Regions from separate parts of the Homo sapiens genome. Here all the other regions are linked to region 2. Evidence: promoter capture Hi-C in human tissues and cell types (Jung and others, 2019). All regions are on one chromosome and are shown on one strand. The core of a region is centred on a gene start or on the middle of the fragment in contact, and the rest is flanking DNA. Distances in the headings are between cores, read along the strand shown.

What was found. The method cuts DNA at HindIII sites, captures the fragments that hold promoters and counts their contacts. A contact is called where the count stands out against the background at its distance.
Region 1: a contact is called between a fragment that was not itself captured here and the fragment with the promoter of PSTPIP2 in region 2, in 2 of the 25 tissues and cell types used here (lymphoblastoid cells and spleen).
Region 3: a fragment that was not itself captured here is called in contact with the fragment with the promoter of PSTPIP2 in region 2 in 1 of the 25 tissues and cell types used here (heart right ventricle).

The regions. Positions count from the first base shown.
Region 1 is chr18:45,856,896-45,861,494 of GRCh38, forward strand. EPG5 (ectopic P-granules 5 autophagy tethering factor) reads right to left here. Exons shown (of 44, transcript NM_020964.3): 40 at 3,209-3,451; 41 at 1,671-1,887; 42 at 958-1,173. Among named protein-coding and RNA genes, the nearest start is that of SIGLEC15, 34 kb to the left of the region's middle. The HindIII fragment of the contact is 4,070 bases long and covers 1-4,065 here.
Region 2 is chr18:46,069,277-46,073,800 of GRCh38, forward strand. It overlaps PSTPIP2 (proline-serine-threonine phosphatase interacting protein 2), which reads right to left and starts at 2,984. Exons shown (of 15, transcript NM_024430.4): 1 at 2,880-2,984. The coding sequence starts at 2,912. RefSeq lists enhancers at 1,470-1,569, 1,610-1,669, 2,889-3,390 and silencers at 2,520-2,899, 2,940-2,989, 3,120-3,279. The HindIII fragment of the contact is 22,245 bases long and covers 1-4,524 here.
Region 3 is chr18:45,878,583-45,882,031 of GRCh38, forward strand. It overlaps EPG5 (ectopic P-granules 5 autophagy tethering factor), which reads right to left. Exons shown (of 44, transcript NM_020964.3): 32 at 1,493-1,641; 33 at 431-632. Among named protein-coding and RNA genes, the nearest start is that of SIGLEC15, 55 kb to the left of the region's middle. The HindIII fragment of the contact is 3,011 bases long and covers 1-2,781 here.

The DNA of each region.
Region 1 (4,599 bases), core at 781-3,280, 210 kb before region 2:
TTCTTACCAACAGGCCTTTTATTCATTTTTTCTGTTTTTTTGAGACAGAGTCTTGCTCTGTTGGCCAGGCTGGAGTGCAATGGTGTGATCTCGGCTGACTGCAACCTCTGCCTCCTGGGTTTAAGCAATTCTCCTGCCTCAGCCTCCTGAGTAGCTGGGACTACAGGTGCTTGCCACCACACCCAGCTAATTTTTATATTTGTGTTTATTTATTTATTTATTTATTTATTTTTAGACAGGGTCTGACTCTGTCACCTAGGCTGGAGTGCAGTGGCATAATTTCAGCTCACTGAAACCTCTGTCTCCCGGGTTCAAGCGATTCTCCCACCTCAGCCTCCAGAGTAGCTGGGACTACAGGCATGTATCACCATGCCCGGCTAATTTCTGTATTTTTTGGTAGAAACGGGGTTTCACCATGTTGGCCAGGCTGGTCTCGAACTCCTGACCTCAAGTGATCTGCCTGCCTTGGCCTCCCAAAGTGCTGGGATTACAAGTGTGAGCCACCGCGCCTGGCCACCAACAGATCTTAACCCAGCTTGACGACTTTACAGTTCACTAGACTGAGTCCCTCACAGGTTCTGGATTTCCCTGAACGCCTCAAGTGCCCAGCTGACTTGGCTTTTAAACTATGCTCGCATACCGTCCATGACTAGCTCAAAACCAAAAAGAAATCAGTAGTGCAGTTAGGTTACAAAGTCCAAACACAACAGGAGATACTATTAAAAATACTGTTTGAATTGAAAATTTTTTTTAAAGGTAAGAAAAAATAAAAATGCTTTTTAGAATGTAAAGATGTAATCAGGCTCTGTTTTTTTTTTCTTTTTTTTTTTCCATTAATCTTTCTGGAGAACCTAGATCCTAAGTCGAAAAACCTACTGAAGTATATCACAACCTGTAAGTAGGTACAGATGTCTGAGGCCTATTTAGAACAACAGTGTTAGAAAGGCGCTTCCTTACCTGTTAGACAAAGGCGACTTCCGGCCAAACCCAATTGCCCCCAGGATCCCAGAGCTGAGTCTCTCCTCAGCCACGAGGTTCTGCCTGCTCTGAACCAAGAGCAGAATTCGAATGACAGATTCTGTCAGGACGGAGTCATTCTGCTCTGTCTGAATGAGGGAGAGCTGAAGGACTTGGTGCCACCACAAAAACAGCTTTGCCTCTTCCTCCACGGAGCTAGGGGAGGCACCGGAGGAAAATAAAATTAGAAGTAAATTTTTCCCACTCCCATTTAACTGCAAGTCCACATCAGAGTTTGAAGGATAGGAGACATTCAGTACTTCAAAAGCACAGGCTAACGGCTGATGTTAATAGAGCCATGGGATTGTAACCACCGCCATCTGTGGAACACCTACTACACGCCACTGTGATGAACTTCGTGTTCTTCCACTTCATCCTCATGACAGCCCTATCAGGTAGGGATTACTATCTCCACTTAACTGGTAAGGAAACTGATGCTTGGTGTTTCAAAGTGCCAGTTTTAGGAAACAAAAAATCTGCTCAGAAGATTAGCCTATTAATTAAGAATCTTTCCAAAACAACTGTCACCATACCTTAAAACCTTATTTTTTATGCACCTCTTGGTTCTGTGTACTTAAAGCTAGACTTAAGCTCTAAATTCCAAGTTAACCAAATACAGCAAGTTTGATGTAACAGCCTGAGGGCCAACGTACCTTGGGTACACCTGTTCCAGCCACTTGCTTAAGATGAGCAGCACTTTCATTTCATTCCTTAAAGTCTGTTCGCTGTTTAAACACTGAAGCAAGTAGACGTAAAGAGTCAAGTAACTGCCCAAGGTGAGGCACTCCTGCAGGAACTCTTCCATGGTGAGCTCGGGAACCTGAAGGGATACCAGAATGGGTCCCCATCCTGAATTCTGATTGAGAGGGCCTAAGAACATGAAGAAGAGACATCAAGATATAGGCAAGAATCCAATTACTTGACAACTCTAGCAAATATTTTCACTTTAAGCTTCATGATTTTTTTTTTTGACATAGCAACCTATGAGATAATAAGCTTCATGTCAAGACAACCTTTCTTACAGTGACCTTGGAGGCTACAAAAGTCAAATATACCTCAGGGCTCAGACTGGATAGCCCTCAGGCCAGATGCCTGTCCCCAGCGTAGCCACCAGAAAGGTTTAAGAAATCAGAATTCAGGGCTGCATACGTATAAATCACCTTTCTATCACATTATGATCCTTAAAACCACATGTAGACACTGCCTGTCCTGGTCAGTTAAGAATTTTAACTTTAATACCCTTTTTAAGAACATATGAACACTTATGCTTTCCGACGGGAAACTGTTATCACTCAATCTGTGAGTAGTTTTACTTATCAAAGCTTAGTTTAACTCATGTATTGAAACTGTTTGATTTTTAGTAACACACATGAGTTTGGAATAGCAGTGTTATCCTAATGGTTCTCCACTCTTTGGGGGAGCGAGGGTGGGGTGGCATGGTGACATGCACACCACCTCCATGGGTGGGCATGTGCTGTTCATGGGTGGTCAGGACAGGGCAGATGGCAGGTTGTGGGCACTTCCTGGATCCTTGCTCCGATACCCTCCTTCTCACTACTGCTTCTCTCCCACTGACTGCAGTGTGATGTGTTATCTGGATATCAGAGTTGAGAAGTGCTGTTCTCAGCAATTCTTAATCAGACTAAGCCGCTTCCAGAGTCTGACAGTTTAGAGGTAGAAAGTAAAACAGATTTTTAAAAAGGAGGGGTGACAATGAATGAGCCCTTCATAATGCTTTAAAAGGTCTGATAAGCAGCAATTTTAAAAACTTCTATGAAAACTCCTTTTACCAAAAGTGACAAAAACAGGGAAAATTAACCTCATGGACTATGATTATATAGATCCTGGTATATAGCATTTGTTCTGAGGACTATGACTTGGCCTGTGACACAACACAATTTGCATATCATAACAGGTTGGTCTGACCCTCCAAAACTAACGTGAAGTGGATTAGAGCTTTTCTCCCTTGAAATGTGATTGTACCAACAGACATGGCCACAGGTTCTCATGCTAACTGCAGATCTTTATGAAAAATACGTATATTCAGAAACATCCACAACATTTGTAGAGCAGAAAATTAGAATGGCAAATCCCTCACTGGGAAGAGTCTGGAAACATATCTGCTGATGACAATGCTTTCATCTTTCTGGAAAAGACCAATACAATGGAGCGTAAGATGACCTCCTCTTACTTTCTTTGAAGTAGGCAGTGATGCAGGCTTCTGTAGTCTCAGCCATGTGGCGGACGGACGCCAGGCTCTGGCAGGCTGCTGTTAAAAGGGGCAGCACCACCAGCCCATGCATTTTTTGGCCAATCCAGGTCCGGATACTGCCCCGAAGGAACTCTGCTGTTGGAATAGTCGCGTTGTTCATCATCATCAGGACTTCCATAAAGAGGCTGCTGAGGGCCATGTGGCGGGTCTGGCTGTCCATGTCTGAAAGGAATATAGACACACTCAAGAATGGCTGCCAGAAAGGTACTATCCATGTGATCAGGAGAATAACAGTGCTTCAATCTTAGCTGTTCTCCAGGCAGATTTTACAGTGCTAGTAGCTGACTGCAAGGGACTGGAAGGAAGGCTCTGGATGGTGTTAAGTTTGTACAGGTAGTATGCGGCACACGGTTACTAAGAGTAAAAGCAGGAACTACTGTGAGTTCCCTGGGTACAGCAGCATAGCAGAGCAATACTTAATAAATAGACAAATCTGAAGCTGGTGTGAAAGAGTAACTTATCAGAACATGCCTAGTCAGTCTTTATTTTCCAACCTTTGCTCATGGAAAACCAAATACGTAGATCTCACCAGTCATTCAGTAAACCAAGTAGCAAAAGTACCCACTGTCACTGCCACCGCTGTCAATATTCTAGGGTGATTTACACACATTAAAGGTTATTACTTAAAACTAAATATAAATGTAAGGAAAAACCTTTGTAAAGTGTCCTAACAGCAGCTCTTTTATTTCTTTGTTTTTTAAATAAGGAAAGTAAACCAACTGGTAATTTTTCAAAAAAAATTGGAGGTAAAGAGAGAGGAATTCAAGAAAAAGAACGAATTCATTTTACAAGAGAACTGCAAATCTTCACATTCAAAAACAGAAAATATATTTTACTGAGAGTTAAATGGAATAATTTTTGCCAACTCTTCTAGCTCTCCTCAAGCTGTAGCTTTCACACCACAAGGATTCAGTATTTATGTCAATAGGAAGGGTAAAAAGTTGAGAGATCTTACTCATCGCATCTATCAAAACAAATTCATCTACTTATGCAGGGTTAAATAAACCCTCACTTAATCTTTCTGTACGACCTACTTACTATCAAGCAAGGACTTAAAAAACAAGTTTGAGAGAGATAGTAACAGTATATCTGTCTATTTCTTCATGTATTTCTATGGGTACAAATATTCTTGGAAATAAAGGCTCATCTCTGAATTTCAACGGAATAGCAATTTAAATTTTATCTCTTAATTATGACTAATAGGAATAGATTACTACAACAGACCCTAGTCTCTCCCATTCCTGTTCATATCAACAGGGCTCTCAAATCTTTTCCTAAATACCATATCTGATCCTATCACTCTTCCGATG
Region 2 (4,524 bases), core at 1,734-4,233:
TGGCCTGGCTGTTTCCCTGGATCTTTGGAAACTGTGGTCACTGTCTTATTCTGACAAGATACAATCAAAGTTAACCAAGAGAAATTATACAGCACTGCTTAACCAAAGTGCCACAAAGAAGGTATAAACAGGGAAGGGTGGGAGAGAAACAACACACAGGTATGTACCAATAGCAGGCAAATTCATTGGGGGCCAATCCCAGTTTTATTCATTTATTTTAAAATGATTTTTAGAGACAGGGTCTCACTATGTTGCCCAGCCTCCTTAGTAGCTGGGACTACAGGCACACGCCAGCTCCAAGCCCAGTTTTAAACACTGATTATTCCCTTTTGAAGCAGATTCATCGAAGATTTCTTTAAATAAATATTTTCATGAAGCATTTAAATACATTCATTTATGAAGTGTGTATTGACTCATACTTTTTCAGGAACATGTACAAACACGTTTGACCACAGTCCTCTCACCTTCCTTGGAATGTCCCTCTCTTGGGCCTGTGATAGCTCTTTCCTGGTTGTATCCCTTCATCTCTTCCTCTATTTCTCTGTCCCCTTTCTCCTCCTCCATCAATAGAGGCATGCACTAAGAGTGCTTCTTTGTGGACTTCCGATCTCTTCATTCTTTCTCCTTGAATAACCATCACTCACTTCTTTTACTTGTCACCTCTACTGCTGATAATAATAGCTGGCAACTATAGGTGCTCTCTGTGTGTCAGGCACTGTACTAAACTCTCAAGTTTAATCCTCCCAACGGTCCTAAGGAGTAGACACTGTTATTATCCCCATTTTTATGTATGGAAAAACTGAGGCTTGGGGGCGGAAGCAGGCTGCCCAGGGTCACCTAGCTAGTAAGGGGCAGAACTGGATTCAAGCCCGGGCAGCCCACCTCAGAGGCTTCATGCTGTTCGGTAAGCTCTCAAAACTGGACATCTTCCCAAGGGGCGGGGCCATCTCCACCAGCCCCTCAAACCCTGCATGTCACCCACCAGACATTAGAGAGTACTCACTGACATGTTTGTACTGGCTGTGAAGATATTAAAATACTGCAAACTCTGTGGCCTGGAACCCTGTCTTCACCCTGTCACCCTCTCCGCTAAGACCTCCCCGTATCCAGCATCCCTGGCATGGGGCTGAGGGGTGGAGGCTGGTGGGGAGGGGCTTAGCGCCCGCCTGGCCTTAGCCTTGCCAGTGCTAAAACTGTGGCTAAATACTGAGGATTGTGTTGTTTGGTTGGGTTTGTTTGTTTGTTCGTTTTTGAGACAAACACAAATCACTCTGTCGTCCAGGCTGGAGTGCAGTGATGTGATCATAGCTCACTGCAACCTCAAACTCCTGGCCTCAAGCAATCCTCTTGCCTCAGCCTCCCAAGTAACTATATCTACAGGCATGCACCACCATGCCCAGCTAATTTTTAAGATTTTTTTGTAGAGACAGACAGAGTCTCACTATGTTGCCCAGGGTGGTCTCGAACTCCTGGCCTCAAGCAATCCTCCTACCTCGGCCTCCCAACGTGCTGGGATCACAGGCATGAGCCACTGTGCCTGAACTAAATACTGTTAGTATCACGTCTGCCTCCTTCTCCTTATGTCTCCACGAACCAGTTCCTCTGCTGACTTCCTTATTTCTGGGGCCCACATCTCATTCTCCAGTTTGTATTATACAGAGCCTTTTTCCCACAGTGCCTGCCATGGGATCCCCCAGTCCTCCATTCTACCTGAAAAACTCGCAAGCCTCCCGTGAGAGCCATCTGTGGTGCCCTTGGTTCCTCTGTGAGGCTGCCACCACCCTGCACCCTAGGGTGAGTAGTGCCCCAGAAGGACCTCACAAACTCCAGTGAAGGGACTCACAGGCACAGTCTCAACTGTGTCCCTGAGGTCCCCAGCCAGGTTTCTCTACCCTGCAGCCCACGTGGGGTAGAGGGACCATCTAGGCAGCTGTGAAGCTACCTGGGTGGGTGGTGGGGGGAGGCAAGCAGGAGCCCCAGTAAGGAGTCAGGGCCCCTTGGCAGCTGCGGTCAACTTTGAGGTTTGCAGCCTCCTGCTCCTGTCTTAAAGGGATGAGGACAGCTCCTCTGAATGAGGGGGCATGGACCTTGAGGGGCACCTGGGGAGTGAGAGGACAGAGGGAAGAGGACTAGACAGAGGAGGGGGACAGGCAGACCTGCTCCCTCCAGGCTGGGCTGGCCCTACCGGGCTGGGTGGGGTACCCCCTCCAGCTTATAGGGTCTCCCACACCATCAGCCCCGCTATGGGGCCTGGACGGAAGGGCTGGGGCAATGGCCTGGGGAGGGGGCTCGGGAAACAAGGCTGTAGAACAGGGAAAGCTCCAGCAAAGGGAAGCCCTCTATGCTGTACGTTTCCTGGAAAGGACGATCCCGGGGGGCAGCTGCTGCTGTCAACCCGGTAAAGCTCACAAGCCCCCACACCAGATCCCCCCAGATCCTCTCACGGCTCAGCTCCAGGGACCGGCAGAGACTCTCCCCGGACGGGTCTCGCCTCCCTAAGGGTCTCTGCTTCGCCTGTGAGAGGAGGGGTTGATGTCCTGACTCTAAGGTGTCTCGGCTCTCTGCGTCCTCAGGAGCACGCGCTGCTGGGGGCGCGGGCGGCAGAGGGTGGGCCCTGGAGTCCGAGCCCCCGGGACTCGCGGGCACGCGGTGGGTAGCGGGGGACAGAGAGGGAACAGCAGCCCGGCGTCCGCTCCAAGTCTGCCCCTCGAGCAGTGGGGCTGGGGCCCCGATCCCTTCACGCGCGAGCTCCGCCAAGCCCCCGGGCGCGCGGTCACCGAGTGGCGCCGGAGCTGGGGAGCCCCCCACGCCCGCCGCGTTGGCCTCCCGCCCGGGCCGGGTCCTGAGCCCCGCGATCCGCTGTCGGCCCCACGACTTACCCAAAAGTTTCCCTTGAACAGTGAGCGCGTCATCGCAGCGCGAGTGGGGGCGCGGAGGAGAGCCGGGCCGCAGGTAGCACAGAGCGGGGAGGCCTGACTGCCACTGCCCGCGGCTCCGCAGACTCAACTTCTGCGTTCCACACTCGCGCAGGGAAGCCGCCCCCGGGTCCTAAACCACTCCCGATTGCGACGGCCGCCGTCGGCGCTCTGCGCTCCCTGCGCGAGACCTGGGCGGGACCCTCGGCGCTCACCCGGCCAGGGGCTGCAGCCCGCACCCGGACCCAGGCCCATTTAAAGCCCCACAGCGTCGGGCCACGATCAATATATCAGCCCGAAGCTAGCTGCCTCCTTCTGGAAGTCTTTGGGTATTGGAAATAACTGGTCCTGGCTTGGGTTCCTGCCCACAAGGCCCCCTGGACAGCACGAAATCCAGGCTCTGCGGGGTGATAGACGGGATCTGATCAGATGGTCGCGAGGACCCGGTTTAAGCTACAGAAGGCCTGGGGCCGACAACTCCCGCAGACGCCTTGGCTTCACGGCGGGCCCCACCGGCACCTGCTGCAGATCAGGCCCTGGGGGACGGTTCATTTTTTATTTTACTTTTTGTTGTTGCAGGTGTTTTTAATGAATGGGGTCACGTTTTAGTCTAAAATGTCATGGAGAGGTCATCTCTGCTGTTTCCCCTTGACTCTAGTCACTTGGTGGTGTCCTAACAGGGCTTCCAGGAGCTCAGCCGCTCTCTGACTCCCTTTCCATTCTCAAAAGGCAAGACCCTTCCCTGCCCATTCCACCCCAGCAAGAGGGGCCCAAGATTCCTTCTTCTCCCTCCACTCTTCCACCCTCACAAATAAAACCCCAGGGCAGGTCAGACCCCTCTCTGCATTGTAGTAGATTGGTACAAAAGTAATTGCGGTTTTTGCCATGACTTTTAATAGTAATGCAGGGCTTATGACAAAGTACTGCCTGGTGCGACAGGCCCGAAGCCCAACCTGAGGCCCAGAGGGGTTGAATGGCTTGCCCAAGATCACAGTTTATTTAAGGGATGAAGAGCTCAAGGTTAGAGCTCTGCCCTTCTAAATAGATGCAAAGACAGACATCCTTCCTGGGGCAGATCCATCCTGGGCAGAGGAATAGGTGCTCAAAGTGGGGAGGATAAAGGTCAAGGTTGCCAAGACTGGCACCAGCCCAGCCTGGAGAAGCAAGCACTCACCCCTGGAGCAGGTTCTAGCTACACCCAGACACAGTGAAAGGGCAATTGCTAGAATTATGTGAAGCACCTGGAACAAGTTCTGCTCCATAAAACTGCAGCCAGCCCCACTCAGATGAACTCCCACCAATAAAGTCATCCACAACTGCAAAGATGGAGAGGTGGCCTCCAGCCACCAAGCATCTCCAAGGGATGCATCCATTTACGTACTTGCTCATATCCTTTGAAAGCAGTGAGATTAGAAGGAAGGCAGAGAAGCCTGGCAGAACCATCAAGGGGCAGCAGAGGACGTGGTAGGCACTAGGAAGCTAGGCTTAACTGCAGGGGGTAAGAAATGGCACAAACTGGGGACATAGAAGCGGGAGAGCTGAAGACACCACTAAGGTTTTTCCTGGAAGTTTTAAATATTCTGGAAAAATAGTTTAGATACAATTCTAA
Region 3 (3,449 bases), core at 26-2,525, 190 kb before region 2:
AGTGTAACTATGTATGTTTACGTTTTCATTGGCTACACTGGAATTTCTCTGAATTGAAGAATTTGTATTACAATACAATATCATGGATAATTTTATAACACACTTTTAAAAAAGATAAATGTATAAGATTTAGAACCCCATCTTAGTAAGACAAATGACAGAAAGGGTTGGAAACTGAAACCTCTCTGTACCCCAACCTGCAAAGGAGGGGCAGAGACAAGCTATAGCAAGCACCCTACATTCACTATGTAATGAATATATCCATTCATATATTGTGACATATATGACACATATATGGGCTCATGCCTGTTCTATATATTTCTACTTTCTCTCCTTGACACTCAATATAAATCTCTTAATGTGCCTATTTAAATCTCTCTTAATGGAAAGTCCAAACACCTAGCTCCACATCGCATGAGAAGTATATTACCTGTTTTCCTGCTGGCAGTTGGGTCTTGGGCCAAACAGGTCATTTCTAAGTCAATCAGCCTTTTCACAAGGTAGCCCAAGAATGTCTTCACATCAGCCATATAAGGACTCCATTTTGAGAATAAACCAAAGCTTTTAAAGTCCATCTTGGATAACCGAAGCTTATAAAAAAAGTCTGAAAGCCACTGTATAGTCTCCATTACCTGGAAGAGACAACTAGTCAAAAAATGCTTACTAAATATGTATTTTAGTAAAGTGTTATGATACACTGTGATGGGGGTGTATATAGTAGGTCTTTGACTTTATAAGAGAGTGGCAAAAATATAAAGCATATGAGAAATAAATCAATGGTTTTTTGTTTTTGTTTTTGTTTTGAGGTAGAGTCTTGCTCTGTCGCCTAGGCTGGAGTGCAGTGGCACGATCTTGGCTCATCGCAACCTCCGCTTCCTGGGTTCAAGCGATTCTCCTACCTCAGCCTCCTGAGTAGCTGGGACTACAGGCGTGCACCACCATGCCCAGCTCATTTTTGTATTCTTTAGTAGAGACAGGGTTTCACCATGTTGCCCAGGCTGGTCTCGAATCCCTGACCTCAAGTGATCCGCCCACCTTGGCCTCCCAAAGTGCTGGGGTTACAGGCATGAGCCACCGCGCCAGGCCATCAGTGGGTTTCAAACCTTTTCTAAATCAGTGGAACCATTATTTCAAATAAATTCTCATGCAAATGCATATCAAACAGAAAGGATAAAACCCAGAGCTCCATGGGACACTGCATCATAGAAACCCGACCAGAGGTCTCAGGGTGGAGTCCGATGGGCTAGGGTGGGCAGGAAAGATCTACAGGGGAGTGCCTGCCCTTGTCTTGGATACATGGGCAAGAATTAGACTCAGGGGAATGGGGTGAGCCATCTGGAAAAAGGGGACACGAGGGAACCAAAGCACTTAACACAAAGAAAAACACATGGCTCTTAAAGATAATGCACAAGTTTTCCAACTGCTTAAAAAATGAATAGCAAGGGAAATAAAAAGAAATGCACAAACACGTCAGAGACCAAAGGCTACACACCTGCTTGTCTGACAAGAGAGCATCAGAAGAGCTGGGAAGCACGGCGCCCTCGGTGGACGCTGCCCCCTGCTGGCAGCTGGGGGCGCAGCAGCCCAGGGCTCTCAGAGTGGCCTTCCAACACTCGGGGCTCAGAAGCTGCTCCGCGGAGCCTGCCAGCAGGGACAGGAAGAGCAAGTCAGTGGCTTTCCCGAAAGGAATATTTTAACTTGTAACAAAGAATATGAGCACCTTATAAAGGAATAAAAATAAAGCCAAAATCCAAAACAAACTCACAGGGATATCTGGGGTGAGGAGGCCCAAGTAAAGAGAACCTAAGAGAAGAACTGGCCACCTGCACATTTGGTTTTCCTGGTTCCTGGTAACCCTGCTGGGAGTGAGCGCTGCTGAAGCTGGTGGAGCTACACTCAGAGGGGTGGGAGACCTGACCCTCCGACCCTGACTGGGGAATGGTGGCAGTGCCTCTCCTGGCTGGGGGACCACAGCTATCTATGAGTGTGACAGAAACAACAGTCACAGGACAACGGAAACCACATGATGAAGGCAACTCAGGGCCTGGGCTCTCCAGAAGGAGTCTCCTACCGGCCCCCCAATTCCCCGAAACCAAGACCCAGAGGCAGCATGGAAACGCTGGACAAGTCCAGCAGCCCATATTCTGAACTAGTCCCAACTCTGCTACTTAATAACTTCCCATCCCACAGGACAGGAATAATATCTCCTAAAGTACTTTCCACCCAGAGCGAACATGAGAATCAACTAAAATAACAGGTTCATGGAGCAGGTCTGAGGAGAACGATGGTGAGGCCAGTTACAATATGTCCAGTGTGAGGTACCTGGGGACAGTGCCAGTCTGTGTCCAATGGCCACTGGGGTCTGGATCTTAGGACAGCGCCCCAAAATTAAGCTATCACTGGAAATCACACATGCCTAGAAGGTGGCAGTGACATCAGGGAAAACAACGGGCTCACCCAGAGGGAATGAATGCAGTAGAAGAGCAAAGGATGCTCCCAAGGGAACATCAACATGGTAGCCAAGGAGGAGAAAGAAACCAGGAGGCTGAAGCTCATGACATCTGAGAGGTATCATATTGTTATTCTTAAGTCTGAATTACTTTTCTTGGTAAGAACAAATTTCTAGCTAAATTCCAGTCAATAGTGGTCTAATATAAATGGTTTACAATCTCTTTAAAAGATTTCAGGGAAAAATCCACAACACACACTATTTGAAACTTTAAAAGCTTAGAGAAAAAATTAGCTATGCACATATTCATTGGCATTTGTACAAATGTATTTCCCTTCCACCATTCTCCACCCACCCTGCAACCTGCCTCTGTGGGAAACAATTAAAGCTTGAAGTGCTTTCAAAATGAGAGGCTGCACATTTCAAGGTCCTTTGGGCAACCCGATACACTGGATCATTAACTTATCCATTAAACTATTTCTATGATGTAACACAAAAATTTGGTATAAAGCAAAATTTCATTTGCTATTATATCTATAAACCGTATGAAGTTTGCATTAAAAAGTAAATACTATCTCATTTATCAAATTTTAATAAAATTACTGCCTAGCGAAACTCCAAAAATAAAAAAGCCTACCCTATTTATTTCTCCTCTAAACTCTAAAATTGCTATAGAAAATTGTAAGAAGGGGGAACAGAAGTGGCAGGAATGTGGAGATTGTAATGCTGCTCTTTCCCTTGGTAAATATAAATAAAGTCTATCATTACATATGGATAAAATTAATTTGCAAAAAACAAGAGTAAAAGACTTAGAAAGGAAAAACTCCCAAAATGTTTGGAACTACAGAGAAACAAACTGTCATATTAAACATATCATAAGGCACAACCTCCTTGCTTTGCCAGATCTGTCGTCTGCAGAGTAAGCCAGTCCTTTCCCACCCCACTTCAAGACAGCTGAAAAGTCAAGACAAAGAAGTACCTGCATGACTGTGGACTCCAC